3 separate regions of the Homo sapiens genome follow, and regions 1 and 2 are each linked to region 3. Evidence: promoter capture Hi-C in 16 types of primary human blood cells and fetal thymus (Javierre and others, 2016). All regions are on one chromosome and are shown on one strand. Each heading gives the region's core, a stretch centred on a gene start or on the middle of the fragment in contact. The rest is flanking DNA. Distances are from core to core; before and after follow the strand shown. Region 1 holds the start of DLEC1 (DLEC1 cilia and flagella associated protein). Region 2 has its middle 26 kb from the start of SCN10A. Region 3 holds the start of EXOG (exo/endonuclease G).

Region 1 (2,700 bases), core at 74-2,573, 460 kb after region 3:
CCCGTGGAGGCGGCGAGACTGGTCCTGTAAGTATCTCACATACTGTATAGGTATTCATTTTGTTAATGTCTATCTACCTCAGTTAGGTTGAAAGCTACAGAGGACAGGTTGCGTGTGTGAGTGTGGGTGTGCCCGAACACTGGCGTTTTTATTCACTGCTGAATCCCCACTGCCTAGAACAGAGTATGACACCCAGCAGACATTCAACAAATGTGTTAAGTGAAGGAATGACTGAAGCTAACGACGTGGGATGCATGTCACTTAAGGGGCAGGTAGAGGACAGAACAGAAAGGAGAAGAAGAAGATCTGAGAGGCAGGAAGCACACCGGGGTAAAGGATCGGGTATGGGAGGAGTGCCCACAAGTTTAAGGGAGTCTTCAGTAGTGTGGCCAGCAGAGGCCGACTCAGCACAGAGGCCGCGAGTCAGCTGGTTTTCTCCTTGTACAGATGAGGAAGCAGAGTTGCTGTTCTAGAGGCTAGACACGCTTCCTAAAATCTGCGCATGAATGGCCCAGTCAAGATTGTGGTTTGTGATACAAAGGCACCCCAAAGCCGGGTGACTTTTGGCTTTATCCTCTCCATGGAACAACTATTCAGCGGTCTGCCGCAGTCGTTCATTGATATATGCAATATATAACGTATGTGTCTAGAGAAATATAGACAGGTGCTACAGATATATGCCGCACGTTGTGTGGTATGTGTGGTATTTGCGCATGTGTGTGTATGGATAGAGCGTCCTTCCACTAGAATGTCGGGCCCACTTCGGCATGATGGGCTGTTTCTCAACTGCAGCCCCAGATCCTGGAACAGCGCCTGGCACCTGGCAGGTGCTGACGCGTGCCGAGCGCTGAGACCCCGGCACCGTCCGCAGACGCGACGCCACCGCCACGTTACCTGCTGCAGCTGGTCCACGAACTCCTCGTGGCGCTCATTCTCGCTGCCGCGGGCCTTGATCAAGCTTGCGCTCACTTCGTCGCCGATGACCTCGGCTGAGTACAAGTTGCGGAAGACGCCGGTGAGCAAGTGCGAGATATCTTGGGTGCGCAGCGAGGAGGGGCGCAGACGAAGCAGCTGAGGCTCGGGACGCTGCGCCAGCGCAAGCTGCGTGAGGCGGCGGGGCCGGGCTGCGAAGCTGTAGTGGAAGGCCTCAGAGTAGGCGAGGGAGGAATACAAGGAGGACTTCCAGGTGGGCTGGCTGGGGCTGCTGGACCCGGCTGGTGGCGAAGTTGGCGCCCACATTGTCCCCTGGCACTCGTTGGTCCGGGACGCTAAAGACCTCCGCGTTTTGGAGCTCCTGGTCTCCATGGCAACCGAGACGCCGCTAACTCCCTGCGGCACTTCGGCTTCCGGCCTCACCCCTTCCGCCTTGCCTTTCTCTCGGATCCCGTCATCGCTGTGGTCATTGTAAACATTTGTGTCTTCAGCATTGTCCTTTTAAAAGTGAGCTTACTAAGTGTGAGGACCCATGAAGAAAGGTTTAATTGACACAGCCAGGCCTATCTGCAAAACCTTGTACCTAACTACCTACCTTCATCCATTCTTTAATTTGTTAAGCAACTGTTCATTCACTCATCATATTTATTGTGTAAAGATTGTGTTTCAGGTCTGTGCTGATTGCTGAAGATACCAAAGAAGTATGATGCTGCTTCTGCCTTCAGGAAGTGCACAGTCGTGTATGTGTGTGTTTGTGATGATGGCGGTGGGTGTGGAGGTAAAAGTAAAACAACTGTACTTTAGTGGGTTAAGGCCAAGGTGGAGATAAATATTGGTTGTCATGGAACTACAAAGGAGGACAGGAACTTAGTCTGTAGAAGGAGCGATTACTTCTTGGAACAAATGAAAACCAAGCAGAGATTTCAAAGAAGGAGTAGACTGAACATCATTAGTCATCAAAGAAGTGGAAATTAAAACCACAATGCAGTACTACAGTTAGTAGAATGACAAAAAACAAAAAAGTACCTAAATAAGAGCGTGTGTGTGGTGGCTCACACCTGTAATCCCAACACTTTGGGAGGCTGAGGCACGAGGATCACTTGAAGCCAGGAGTTTGAGACCAGCCTGGGCAACATAGGGAGACCCCATCTTTACAAAATATTTAAAAATGTGGGAAGGACGGAATGAAATTCAGGAGGAGTGGAACTTAAAGAGTGTGAGGGTGGAGGAATGACACTGATAGGTTAGGGCCAGATCATAAGTGGGTTGGTAGGCCACAATAGGGAATTTGGACTTTATTTTGAGGGCAGTAGGAGGTTCATCAAGGGTCTTAAGCTGGGGCATGTCATGGTCAGCTCTGTTTTACTAAGATCATTCTGATTGCTATGAGAATAGACAGGAGAGGCAAGAGGCATCAGGAAGTTCAGTTAGGAAACTAGCACAGAAGTTAGGAAAGAGATGAAGGGAGATTGGATGAGAGAGAGGGAACTGGATTGGAGATAGATCCAAAAAGTAGAATTGATAAGACTTGCTGGTGGATAATGGGAGGTAAGAAACAGGCACCAAGAATGACTCCCAGGTATCCTGTGTGTGCAATCAGGGGGGTGATGACAGCATCACTGAGATGGAAAAGAGGACTGCATTTGTCCAGGGCAGCAGCATAACATCACATTGACTGTTGTCATTTGCACACCATGGCTTTTGCTCACAGGTGATACAACCAACCACTTTCTACTCCACACTGAGTTTGCTTGCCTTACATCCTGA
Region 2 (2,700 bases), core at 165-2,664, 350 kb before region 3:
AATAGACTATAGGACTATAGTCTCAAGAGCATATTTGCTCTTTGGCAGGAGAATTGGATGAGTGTCCATGCAATAATAATGCAATACAACATAACAAGTGTAATAAACCAGAAACATGCCTCTGCTCTGAGGACATGAATGAAGCAAGCTCACAGAAAGACCTCCTGAGAGAGGAGCATCTGAGATGGATGCGCTTGACAGGTATGTAGGATTTTGACAGGTGAACCTGGTTTTGGAGGGTGTTTGAAGTCGGGGAGACAGTACAGGCAGCTCAATGGCAACTAGAAAGTGTGAGGAAGTATGAATTACCCAACTGACTGGACATGGAGTATAGGGAGTGGAGCAGCAGCAACTGAATCTTAGACACAGACATTTGTGGAGAGCCTCAAATGCCAGAGTGAGGAGTTCTAGCGTATTTTGATAATAAGAAGGCATTGAAGGTGTTTTAGCAGGGAAGAAAAATAACTGGATAGAATGTGCAAGGTGGAATGGAGAAAAACAAGGTCTGATCCTGGTAGGGAAGAGGCACTGAGCCAGGAAGGAGGTGAGGGCAATGCGGTGTGATTCCAAGATGCTTGTGCCAGCTGCCTGACCATGAGGGAGGACAAGATAGATGACAGTAAAGGGTACTAAGTTAATAGCATAGGAGGAGCAAGGGTTGGAGTTTGTTTGTTTGTTTTAATGGCTGAGGAAGAACATCTAAAATGTAATTCAATTTTAAATATTTTGAAAGTTTAAGATGTCAGGTCTAACTGACAATGCCCAGCCAAGACTTGAACTTGAGGACAAGGTGTGGACAGGAGTCTTCGGTGCAAAGGTGATGTCTGAAACCCCAGGAGCAGACATCATGGGAGAGAGAGAGTACACCCAGCTCTAGAAGCAGGCAAGGGACTTGCCCTGAGGGTATGTTTTCAGGGAATGAAGGTGAAGAGGAGTGAGACAGTTCAGAGAAGAATGTGGGGTAGTAGGTGACAGTAAATACCATGACATGTAATGTGAGAACAGAGCAGGCTTCCTTGGAGAAATTGGGTCAACAAGATGAGATACACAGTCCCACCTTTTCATCCCTTCCACCAAGCAGCATGCAGGATCCAGGAAAGAATCCCACCCCTTATTGCTCTACCTTTTTATAGGGCGAAGATGAGAGCTTGCCTTATAAACAATTGGGCCAGGGAGCCAGCTATTCCAGGGAGCAGTCTTGGAATGTCAGTTTCTAACACCCAATGCCCTTGGGGATCCGAAATCCTGTATAGCTACTCCTGCTCAAGGAGGGTAAGCCACTGATTCCAGATTGCTTGTTGCCTGGCAACCCAGATAGAACCTCCGGGGTCATTGAATGGGCAATCCTGTCCCTTGATACACAAGGAGTAATCAAAGTAGCACTGAGAAAACAAGAGCTAACATTTATTGAGCACTTACTCTGGGCCAGGTAACCACTTTACCAGCCTTACCTCTTCACAATATCTCTATTAGGTAGAAACTATTTGTAACCTTCATTATACAGATGAGGAAACTAAGGCATGTAGAGGAAATAAGAGGCTTCTTCGAGAGCCAGTAAGAGGTTTTGTCAGGATTCAAACCCAAGCATTCTGGCTCTAGGTCTCAAGCTATCAACCACTATACTGCACTGCCTCTCAGACAAAAAGAGACAATGTGCTTGATGTTAAACAGAAGGTACAGGGTTTTCTTGCTAGTGTCTGTGAACCTTTTGCATCCATTTCTTTTTCTCTCAAAGTAATGCATGTTTTTAAAGTTGTCTTTACAATGTGGAAACTCACACTGGGGAGATGCTGTGCTCCCTCTCCAAATTTAATATACTCAGTTCTGTAGATGTATTTGGTCCCCTAATATTTTGACAGAGCTTCCATCCTTTTTCTATTCTCTCCCTTCTTCAGGCAATCTATGGTTAATCTATCTCTTCTAAATATGGTTAATCTATCTCTTCTAAAACCAGGTGCCCAGGTTTTAGAAGAGCAGGGAGCAATGGAACATCTTTTCCTTTTGGACAATAGACTTCTATTAATGTAGACTACAACTGTACTAGTCTGACTGTAGTGCTACCAAGAGGTATCCTGGGGGTACTAATTTAGCTTCCTTTAATCTGCACCAATCCCCCAATTCAAGATACTCTGAATGAGCATACAGGCTAAGTAAAAACACTGTGTCATTGGTGCCAGTGCAGCTTCAAGTTCCCCTGCCCCCTTTCCATACTCTAAGTTCTTCCTATATTTTAAGTATAGGAGGTATATTGGAGCTATAGGACTATAGGAAATATACCTGGAGCCAAATCATGCTGATGGCTCATATTCTATTGATTCATGAGCCCTAGTTAGACTTCTACGCAGTTTTTCTCCTAAATTAATGTTTTAAAGAGCAATACTTGAAAAAAAAATTGCTTTGGATCTAAGTGAAGGTCTCAGTAATGTTCTGGATCATCCATTTTCACATTGAAGTTTGAAAAGAGAGGTTTCTACTATTCCATGGGAGGGCACCAAAGCCTCAAGGGATGGACCACTAATCAGGGGAGACATCAAGTGAGGGAAACGCCCTGCCTGGAGTTGGGAGTGACCACTCCAGGACTGAGTGAAAATATAAAAAGGTATAGGAGACTTGAACAAAACTATCAGCCAACTTGCTCTGATTTTTATAGAACTCAGTAAGAACAAAATACACATTATTTTTAAGTACTTATAGAACATT
Region 3 (2,700 bases), core at 78-2,577:
GAATCCAAATTGTTCCAAGACAGCCTTTTCTGCAGATCCTAAAAATGAAAAAAAAAAAAAAAGGGGGGGCAGAGACAAAAAAAACACACACACACAATTAGTGGCTCTTAATAATGAAAGATTATAAGGAAAAGGAGAGCGGTGTGATTTACAAAGGACTGGCTCAGAAGTCTAATCAACCAGAAAATCTCATTTTTGCAATTACTTATGAGATGAAGAAAACAGACAGTAGGCAAAGTACTGATTTGCCTATAATCAGTGAATAAAATGCAGCTACTGCATTAACTTTTGAATAAAGACTTGATCTTATTAGTCTTTCACATCAAATTTCCAAATCATCTCTGAAGCACTGATATGTGTGCTGTTGCAAGATGACAGTAAAACTGGTACTGTTTTTCCTAGTGGGAGAAACCAAGCACACATTCAGCAGTGAGTCAGTTTCGAGATAATCCTCCCCGATGCCTTCTCAAATCCTCAACCCCCCAAGGGGGTAGTTCTCTTGCTAGATGCCAAGTATCCAAAGGAGCAAGTTAAATTAGCACATCCGCAAAGTACAAGAAATGAGCTCGTGTTAATTTTTTTTTTTTTTTTGTCAAATATAAGGTACCCATTGCAACATGAGTTTTTATACACTTTGGAGGGATAGCAGGTATTCTTCAACTGAACAATGACGAAAGAAGGGCAGTTAACTCATCTACTAAAATTATGTATTAATTTATTCCTTCATTCATACTTACTGAATGCCAATTATGTACCAGGTACTGTGCTGGTTAGATGATGGAGACCAAAACAGACATAGTCTCAAGTCTTATGGAGCTAACAATCTTAGTAGAGAACACAGACATTAAAACATAGATATCGCGATGAGTAACTGGGGGGAAGAAAGTCGGGCGGCGGGGGTGGTTCTGTGCAGAAAACGAAGATGCCCGGGGGAAGGAAGGACATGAGGGAAGCTGGCGAGACGCGAGGTGGGGAAGGGAGGCCGAGCCGGGAGAATAAAGGTCAGAAACCAAGGGCCAGGCTAGGGGCCCAGCAAACGGTGAAGGCTGTCCGTCAAGGACTGCCATTCACACTCCAGGTAGGAGTCGGAGCCCGAAATCTGGGCCAGCGAAGGGAGGACGGGCCCACAGACTTACCATCCGGCTGCTTCCCTGTCAACGCTCCCTCAGCGCCCTGACTCCGGAAGAACTGCAGGGCCGCGAGCCCAGCTCCCGCAGCGCCCACTACAGCCCCAGCCACGAAGCCGCTCAGAAAACGACGGGAACCCCGGAGGCGGGAAGCGATACTCTTGATAGCCATCTTGCCCGAGGTACCGGCCTTTTACCACGGCGCATGCGCGCGCATGCCGGCCCCCGCCATCCCCCCGTCACCCCACGCCTCACCGCCCGCCAAGCTGAGGGCCTCGCACGCCCCCTGGTGACAAACCGGGATGCCTAGCGCATCCCCGCTTCATCCCTGGTCCACTGGACGGGGCGATGGATGGGGAATATGATGTCTAGAGGGCTTAGTGGTATGCTATATATAGTCATGAGAAGAAAATACCTTTAGTCTCATTTAATAGGTGAGTAAACACTTGCGCATGGTTACACTAAGGTCTCCAGAGCCGATATTCCAACTCAGGTCTATTTATTTATTTAGCGACAGGGTCTCTGTTACCCAGGCTGCAGTACAGTGGAATGATCATAGCTTACTGCGATCTCGAACTCGTGGGCTCAAGCGATCCTCCTGCCTCAGCCTCCTGAGTAGCTGGGACTACAGGCACGTGCCACATTGCCCGGCTAAATTTTTGGCGGGAGTGGGGGAGCGGTAAAGAAGGGGGTCTCCTTATGTTGCCCAGGCTGGTATCCAACTTCTGGCCTCAAGCAATCTTCCCGCCTCGGCCTCCCAAAGTGCTGTAAGTCCAGGTGTGTGTCACTGTCCCCAACCTTCTCTTTTAAATTGGAATAATAATACTTAGACCATAGCGTTCTTGTGAGGATTAAAGGAGATGACACATGTAAAATGTTTAGGGAAGTACCAGGGGCATGTCACTAAGTGCTCTATAAATGTTAGAAATGTTTGAGTCATCTCTACTCTTTGTCTTGATAGAATATAAAATCCAGATTGCTGAACGCCTGCTGGCAAAGAAAGGATAGATTTCATGGACTACCACTCACAAACAAATGAGTCTTCATTTTGCAGCATGATCTCTAGCATTCCGTGTGGACTTAGTTCTTAGCAGAAACTTCAAGTTTCCTATTTCTTAGATAACTGGTAGGAATAACTTTCATCTGATCCCACTGATGATTCACTGACCAGGAGGCCACTTCTAACAACCTACTGAAGTGTGCACATTATTTTGACAGCCTCAAATGGGAGGCTACCCCCTTGCCAGGAATACCTCTTCTGAAGGACCCTGACTGGTTAAGCTACATCAACCAGAGTCCTTCCTAGGGATTTTCGATCTAGTAGTCTCTCTGGGTAGCAAAGCTGTGACGTAAAACTCACAGGCGCAGTGGCTCATGCCTGCAATCCCAGCACTTCGGGAGGCCAAGACTGGAGGATCACCTGAGGTCAGGAATTTGAGACCAGCCTGGCCAACATGGTGAAACCCCGTCTCTACTAACAATACAAAAATCAACCAGGTGTGGTGGCGCGTGCCTGTAATCCCAGCTACTCGAAAGGCTGAGGCAGAATTGCTTGAACCCAGGAGACGGAGGT

The links. Contacts are between HindIII fragments. The CHiCAGO score rates a contact against its expected background, and 5 or more counts as called.
Region 1: the fragment with the promoter of DLEC1 here is called in contact with the fragment with the promoter of EXOG in region 3 in 3 of 17 cell types (total B cells, naive CD8 T cells and fetal thymus); the score reaches 8.6 in total B cells.
Region 2: a contact is called between a fragment that was not itself captured here and the fragment with the promoter of EXOG in region 3, in 2 of 17 cell types (endothelial precursors and megakaryocytes). The highest score is 5.3, in endothelial precursors.

The regions. Positions count from the first base shown.
Region 1 is chr3:38,037,831-38,040,530 of GRCh38, reverse strand. DLEC1 (DLEC1 cilia and flagella associated protein) reads right to left here and starts at 1,323. Exons shown (of 37, transcript NM_007335.4): 1 at 895-1,323. The coding sequence starts at 1,305. RefSeq lists enhancers at 529-758, 1,049-1,258. The HindIII fragment of the contact is 3,706 bases long and covers 961-2,700 here.
Region 2 is chr3:38,840,998-38,843,697 of GRCh38, reverse strand. No RefSeq gene overlaps it. Among named protein-coding and RNA genes, the nearest start is that of SCN10A, 26 kb to the right of the region's middle. The HindIII fragment of the contact is 4,023 bases long and covers 1-2,700 here.
Region 3 is chr3:38,494,967-38,497,666 of GRCh38, reverse strand. EXOG (exo/endonuclease G) reads right to left here and starts at 1,327. Exons shown (of 6, transcript NM_005107.4): 1 at 1,137-1,327; 2 at 1-38. The coding sequence starts at 1,299. RefSeq lists enhancers at 999-1,068, 1,129-1,178. The HindIII fragment of the contact is 8,358 bases long and covers 1-2,700 here.